Linked DNA regions of Homo sapiens: region 1 is linked to region 2. Evidence: promoter capture Hi-C in 16 types of primary human blood cells and fetal thymus (Javierre and others, 2016). All regions are on one chromosome and are shown on one strand. The core of a region is centred on a gene start or on the middle of the fragment in contact, and the rest is flanking DNA. Distances in the headings are between cores, read along the strand shown.

Region 1 (3,214 bases), core at 345-2,844, 2.1 Mb before region 2:
AATAGAAAGGAAAATAAACTAAAATACTGTATGTTTAAAACTTCTGGCCAGGCACAGTGGCTCATGCCTGTAATCCCAGCACTTCAGGAGGCCGAGGCGGGCGGATCACGAGGTCAGGAGTTCGAGACCAACCTGGCCAATATGGTGAAACCCCGTCTCTACTAAAAATACAAAAATTAGCCGGGCGTGGTGGTGTGCGCCTGTAATTCCAGCTACTCAGGAGGCAGAGGCAGGAGAATTGCTTGAACCCGGGAGGCGGAGGTTGCAGTGAGCCAAGATCATGCCACTGCACTCGAGCCTGGGCGACAGAGCAAGACTCCGTCTGAAACAAACAAACAAAAAAACTTATCTCCTGGAAAACTCACTTATTAAAAGATAACTAGTCCTTTTGCCTTTGATGCTCAGGTAAACTTCAGACGAACTAAATGAAAATACTTGTGGATTTGGGGATGAGCGGGAGTCAAGTGCTAGAATTTGCTTAGCAGCTTCTCTTCCACCAATAATGACTTTAAACATGTTGCAAACTAGCCCCAAATGCTAACCTACATTTTTAATCTGAGAGGTATGCGTCATCAAATATTTTGGTTTTATCCCGAAAGTCAGCTAACAGAGATGTAAGTACCTGGGCAACTCTAATGGAATGAGAAGCAACATCTTCCATCTTAAGCATTGATAAGGGTTAAGGGAACAGCTGCTCTTTGCAATGAACAAATCTCACTCTCTGAGGCAGAAATTCGCCATATAGAAGACTGAATTTCTTCATCTTTTTGAGAATCATTTCCACTACCCAGAAAAAACATTCAAATGAGTTGTAAATAAAGTCAAGCGCAGTTGAAAAATCCTGTATCCACAGATGTTTCTTAGGAGTGCCTATGCGCTTAGACTCGAGGGCTAGGGGTTTGAAAGCAAAAGGCAGCCCTCTACCAGGGGTGGTCGGGGAAACGGCCTCCAAGAAACGAATTACACGGTGCACTTTAGTTACCTAGGCAGCTGTTTGTCTAGGAAACAGCTTATTGTTTTCATTTGTCATCACCGCGGCTCACTAGGTATCAGGAAGCTCGGCTCCAGCCGCTACCTGGTGACGCTAATGACGTGCGATGTCTCGCAGCTGCCGCAATTAGACAGGCCAAGCCTTCGCCTTTAAGAAGCTGACTCACGTGGATGCTGTGTTGTGTGCGCTCAGCTGAAAGGGGGAGGTGGGTCCCCAGACTGACTACATTGGCCGCCTCGAGAGAAGGGGCAGAGTTAGCCTCTTTGATTGGCTGTACGAGTCCGAGGTGCTGGGTCAGGGGCGGGGCGAGCTGTCGCAAGCCTGCCCTGGGTCTGCGGCTTCTGAGAGGGGTGGGCCGCGAAGCGGAGGGGTGCGGGAGTGGGGGAGGGTGAGCCAGAGAAGGGGCGGGGCCCCGCGAAAAAGGCAGGAGGCCGAGGACAGGGGCGGGGCCTAGAAATAAAGGGCGTTCTGGGCCAACCGGGAGAGCTGACTGCGGGGGGGCGGAGCCACGCCGGGTGACTGACGTTGAGGCCCAACCAGGGAGAGGCGGGGCCAAGGCCAGGGCCTGACTAAACCTGGAGACTCGGGTGGCCGAGGGGCTTCATACCAGCTGAAGAGCGACAAGCCGCTGGCAGCCGCGGATCTCACCGCCGCTCAGGGTGAGTCCCGCGGGAGGGGCTGGACTCGGGGCCGGTGGGGACTGAGGCGCCCGTTCGGGTCGGGCGGCTTCGAGGCACTCGGGAATCGGCCCAGGGTGGGGGGCCCAGGCAGGAAGTGCCTCTTCCTCGCCGCGCTCTTCCCGGGGTCCCAGAGCGGCCGCCCCAGATCCTTCAGGGTGGGCCCCGGCGCTGGGACCGCGGGCGGACGCGCGGGGCTGTTTGCTCTTTGTGAGGCCTGGCGCGGCGGCCGCCGTCGGCCCGCCCCCGCCGCGCAGCCGGGCGACCGGTGCGACAACAGCCGCAACCCCTCCGCGCGGCGCCCGCGCCTCCGCCCCGTTTCCCCGTCGCGTCCTCCGAGGCCCGCCGCCGAGGCCCACGGCGCCCCCTGGGCGGACGGTCTGGCCGCGACCCCCAACCCGCCGCGCCGCGCCGCGGCTGCCCCGCCCCCACCCGTCGCATAGTCGGGGGCGCGCCCGGTCTCCGCCCCGAATCCAAGTCGGAACTTGACCGAGTTGTTTGGGCCGCGATGACCGCACGGCGTGAACCGTCCTGAGCAGGGCCCACGCCCGGCCCAAGCGGCCCAGCCACCGGGCTGGGGCGGTGTCTCCCTTTGCCCCCTCCCCCCCATGAACGTCCGCCTCCCCCGCCCTCCTGCCCAGAGGACCCGGGACTGACAGCGCAGGGTGACGGTTGGGCAGCCCGCCGGGTGTCGGGACCAAGAGAGCCCCCCGGCCACCCGCTCAGCTGTTTCCTGCTCGTGTTTGTTGTGCCGAGGGAGGCCCCGCCGCCACCGCCGCCGCCGCGCTCTGCCGCCCCGGTCCCTCCCGATTGGCCGGCTGGCGTCACGTGGCCTCCATCAGCTGGGCCGGCGGGGGCGCTCGCGGGCCCCACTGCGGCTGCCGGGTGAGCCCACCCGGGGGTCGCCCGGGCCGGCCCAGCTCCGCCAGCTTCGGGCTGCGGCCTTCCCTCCGCTTGCAGTCGGGAGGGTGGGCGTGCCCTTGCAACCCCTTTCCTGTACCTTCTCTGCAGGTAGATGGGACAAATGAGTGTCCGGATCAGCGGGAGTGGGAAATTGAAATACTACAAAGATCTGTTTAATCCTGATACCAACTAATCTCCCTTTCAAGGGAGAGTCTGGGAAGCTGTACAGCTCATTTATTTTTAAACTTTTTCTGTTTACAGAGATCTGTTGGTAATCTGAGGATTTTTATTCTACGTCGTCTTGACAGATGGAAAACCTGAAGTAACTTCGGGCTAACCTTGTGTTTTTGGAAAATTAGTAGACTTGGTGGTGAAGAAACTGGGAGGAGTAGGATATTAGCTAACTTTGCATAGCCACATATAGAGCGTCGCAGCTGCATTCCACCAAAGAGGAACCAAAAGGCCTGTGGTGTTCCCAGGGTACATATTCATGCCAGAAGTGAAGTGCTTTGGTGAATTCGTTTCCTGAAAGTTTATCGCATACTTGTACTGGGTTAGGTAAGAAGTAAAGTACAAAGAATTTAGAATAGTTTCTCTAGAAGCTTATAACTTAATCAAAAGTCGTGGACAAAGTCGAGCAATA
Region 2 (3,478 bases), core at 8-2,507:
GGCAGACCACAAGGTCAGGAGATCGAGACCATCCTGACTAACATGGTGAAACCCCGTCTCTGCTAAAAATACAAAAAATTACCCAGGCGTGGTGGCAGGCACCTGTAGTCCCAGCTACTCGGGAGGCTGAGGCAGGAGAATCGCTTGAACCCTGGAGGCGGAGGTTGCAGTGAGCCGAGATCGCGCCACTGCACTCCATCCTGTCGACAGAATGAGACTCCGTCTCAAAAATAAATAAATAAATAAATAAATATTAGCCAAACATGGTGGCAGGGGGCTTGTAGTCCCAGCTACTTAGATAGCTGAGTTGGGAGGACTGCCTGAGCCCAGGAGTGTGAGGTTACAAGGAGCTATTACTGCACCACTGCACTCCAGCCTGGGTAACGGAGCGACCTTGTCTCTAAAACAAACAAAACCACTACATTTACTCATCCTTTAAGTACCAACATGTTACCTCCTGTGAGAAAATTTTCCAGAAATACCATTTAACACACTAATAGACATGTCTCTCGATTGCTCTATTGCTGATCAATTGTGTATTTCTCCAAGTTGGCCTCCTAATATACCCCAACCCCTCTTTCTTCAAGTTGGAAGCCACATTTATGTAGCTTGAATATTAAAGTTACGTATGTAAACATTTAAAAGCAGGTGAGTTTGTTAACTTCGGCAAGCTTATCAGTAGACAGGGCCTTCCAGTGAAAAGAGCACTTGACTAGAAATTAGGAGATTTAGGTACTGTCCTAAATCTGTTTCTACCTTACTTTCTCTGGCCTCAGTTTTCTCCCTCATAAAGGAATGTATCTACAGCCCTAGTCTCTGGGTGGCGATTTACGGCTTCTCTGCCTTTTATCTTCATTCTCCGATCCATCCCTCTTCATCTTACAGGTGAGGAAACTGCCATCCAGACATTACATATAACTTAGTCAAGATCCTACACTATTAATTAATGGCTAATGGCAAGGGAATCTTGAGATCCTGTACGGCGGCTGACCCATAAAATCTACCTAGTTCTAAAATTCTTTAACCCACCCACTTAACAAAAACGGAGGTAATAGGTAAACAAAACGCCAGGAAAGATCGCACTTAAAGGAACAAAAGCACCCAAGGAGGAAAAAGAGGCCTGAGATTTCCACGAATTACAAGTGAACTTCCTGTCCTGGGTAAACTTCCGGAATCAACAACAGGAAGACCCAATCAGAATCTTCCTCCGGGAGCCAATGGGAGAGCACATTACAAAGAGCCAATCCCAGCGCCGCTGTCACTGTTATGGTCCTGTCAGGGTGCCGGCGTCGTGGTGCTTGGGTGGTCGCCACCAAGAAGACTTTGGTGGGGTAGTCTCGGGGCAGCTCAGCGGCCCGCTGTGCCCGTTTCTGGCCTCGCTCGCAGCTTGCACGTCGAGACTCGTAGGCCGCACCGTAGGGCGAGCGTGCGGGTCGCCGCCGCGGCCGCCTCGGGGTCTGGGCCCAGCCGCAGCCTCTTCTACCGCGGCCGGTTGGGAGTCGCCGCGAGATGCAGCCTCCGGGCCCGCCCCCGGCCTATGCCCCCACTAACGGGGACTTCACCTTTGTCTCCTCAGCAGACGCGGAAGGTGAGGCTGAGCCCCTGGAAGGGCTATCACCCGGAGGAAGCCAGGGCCCGACGCCGTAGGGTCTTTCTGGTGCCGAGGTGGTCGTGGCCGGGTGGGGACAGGCAGGAAGCTGACTGGTGACTGCAGCCCACCACGCCTGCCGGGCCTTCCGAGAGGCCCCGAAGGACGGAGGGAGGGGTGTAGGGAGCTGCTTTTTAAAGCATCAAGTTACTCGGTCAGCCCTTGGTTTTCCCCATACCGTCTGGTGGCTGGTTTTTCTGGGTGGCTTAGTCTCTTCAATTGGACCCACAAAATCCTAAGCTTTTAGTTCTGGAATTACTCGCCCTTACTCAGAAAAAGGACAGATTGGCCAAGGGAGATCTCAAAGAATGAGAAAAAGGAAGGAGGGCTGTTTTCTTCTGTTATGTATCAACAGATAATTTTTTGGGGGGGGTCTGGGATCAGATTCGGCACTGCAAATACAAACTAAATGGTTTTTATTGAATTTGATGTCTTGCCCGAGTCCCCGTTTTCCTCGCATTTTGTAATGTTTCACCTCAGTATTCAGAGAAATTGACGCAGGTATATTGGAAGTTTAGTGTAAACCAACAATGTGTTTCCAGTAGCCTCTACAGATTTCCTTGTATTATTCTGAGGAAGCGATTGTGCTGGAGATATTTTCCTACAGCACAGGAGAATGTTTCCCTCCTATTCTCAGTTCCCTATCCAACTCATAACCTGGATATTATTCTGCTAGTCATTTTCAATTTTTTTTTTTTTCTTGAGCTCTGTCGCCCAGGCTGGAGTGCAGTGGCGCGATCTCGGCTCACTGCAAGCTCCGCCTCCCGGGTTCACGCCATTCTCCTGCCTCAGCCTCCCGAGTAGCTGGGGCTACAGGCACCCGCCACCACCCCCGACTAATTTTTTTTGTATTTTTAGTAGAGATGAGGTTTCACCGTGTTAGCCATGATGGTCTCTCGATCTCCTGACCTCGTGATCCGCCCGCCTCGGCCTCCCAAAGTGCTGGGATTACCGGCGTGAGCCACCGCGCCCCGGCCATTTTCAAATTTTTATTACACTTCGTGCACCAGTTATTTTCCAGTGACCAGACTTACTGGCTGCTATGAAATCATAAATTATGTTTACAGAAATTTCAGTCTGAGAAAGAACCTAGATTTTCCTTTTTTTTTTTTTTTTTTTTTGAGACTGAGTCTCGCTCTGTCGCCCAGGCTGGAGTGCAGTGATGCCATCTCGGCTCACTGCGAGCTCTGCCTCCCGGGTTCACGCCATTCTCTGGCCTCAGCCTCCCGTGTAGCTGGGACTACAGGCGCCCGCCACCACGCCCGGCTAATTTTTTTTTTTTTTGTATTTTTTTTTAGTAGAGACGGGGTTTCATAGTGTTAGCCAGGATGGTCTCGATCTCCTGACCTCGTGATCCGTCCGCCTCGGCCTCCCAAAGTGCTGGGATTACAGGCGTGAGCCACCGCGCCCGGCCGAAAGAACCTAGATTTTCCTAAGAAATTTTATGGTGTATCAGTATAGCTTGTTTTCCCTTTTGTTTTTCTTGTTGTGCTGTTTGGCATTGTTTTTTAAAAATAGTACTGGTCATAATTTAAAATGTACAATAAAATTTTTGTCTATCAAAGGGAACATAGCTGAGACATTTATTTTTTTTTCTCTTATGTTCTTTTTTTTTTTTTTTGAGGTGTGGTCTCACTCGGTTGCCAGGCTGGAGTGCAGTGGTTTGATCATAGCTTACTATAACCTCAAATTCCTGGGCTCCAGTGATCCTCCCGCTTCAGTCTCCTGAGTAGCTGGAGACCGTCTGGTGGCTGGTTTTTCTGGGTGGCTTATTCTCTTCAAGTGGACCCATGAAACCCTAAGGTCTGTGCCACCGTGCCCAGCTAATAT

Evidence for each region. The method cuts DNA at HindIII sites, captures the fragments that hold promoters and counts their contacts. A CHiCAGO score of 5 or more calls a contact.
Region 1: a contact is called between the fragment with the promoter of YPEL5 here and the fragment with the promoter of YIPF4 in region 2, in 6 of 17 cell types (total B cells, non-activated CD4 T cells, total CD4 T cells and 3 more). The highest score is 13.6, in total B cells.

The regions. Positions count from the first base shown.
Region 1 is chr2:30,145,413-30,148,626 of GRCh38, forward strand. It overlaps YPEL5 (yippee like 5), which reads left to right and starts at 1,595. Exons shown (of 3, transcript NM_016061.3): 1 at 1,595-1,650. RefSeq lists silencers at 1,199-1,778, 1,809-1,978, 2,269-2,708. The HindIII fragment of the contact is 10,963 bases long and covers 1-3,171 here.
Region 2 is chr2:32,276,647-32,280,124 of GRCh38, forward strand. YIPF4 (Yip1 domain family member 4) reads left to right here and starts at 1,258. Exons shown (of 6, transcript NM_032312.4): 1 at 1,258-1,588. The coding sequence starts at 1,510. RefSeq lists an enhancer at 373-1,118 and a silencer at 1,356-1,465. The HindIII fragment of the contact is 1,217 bases long and covers 670-1,886 here.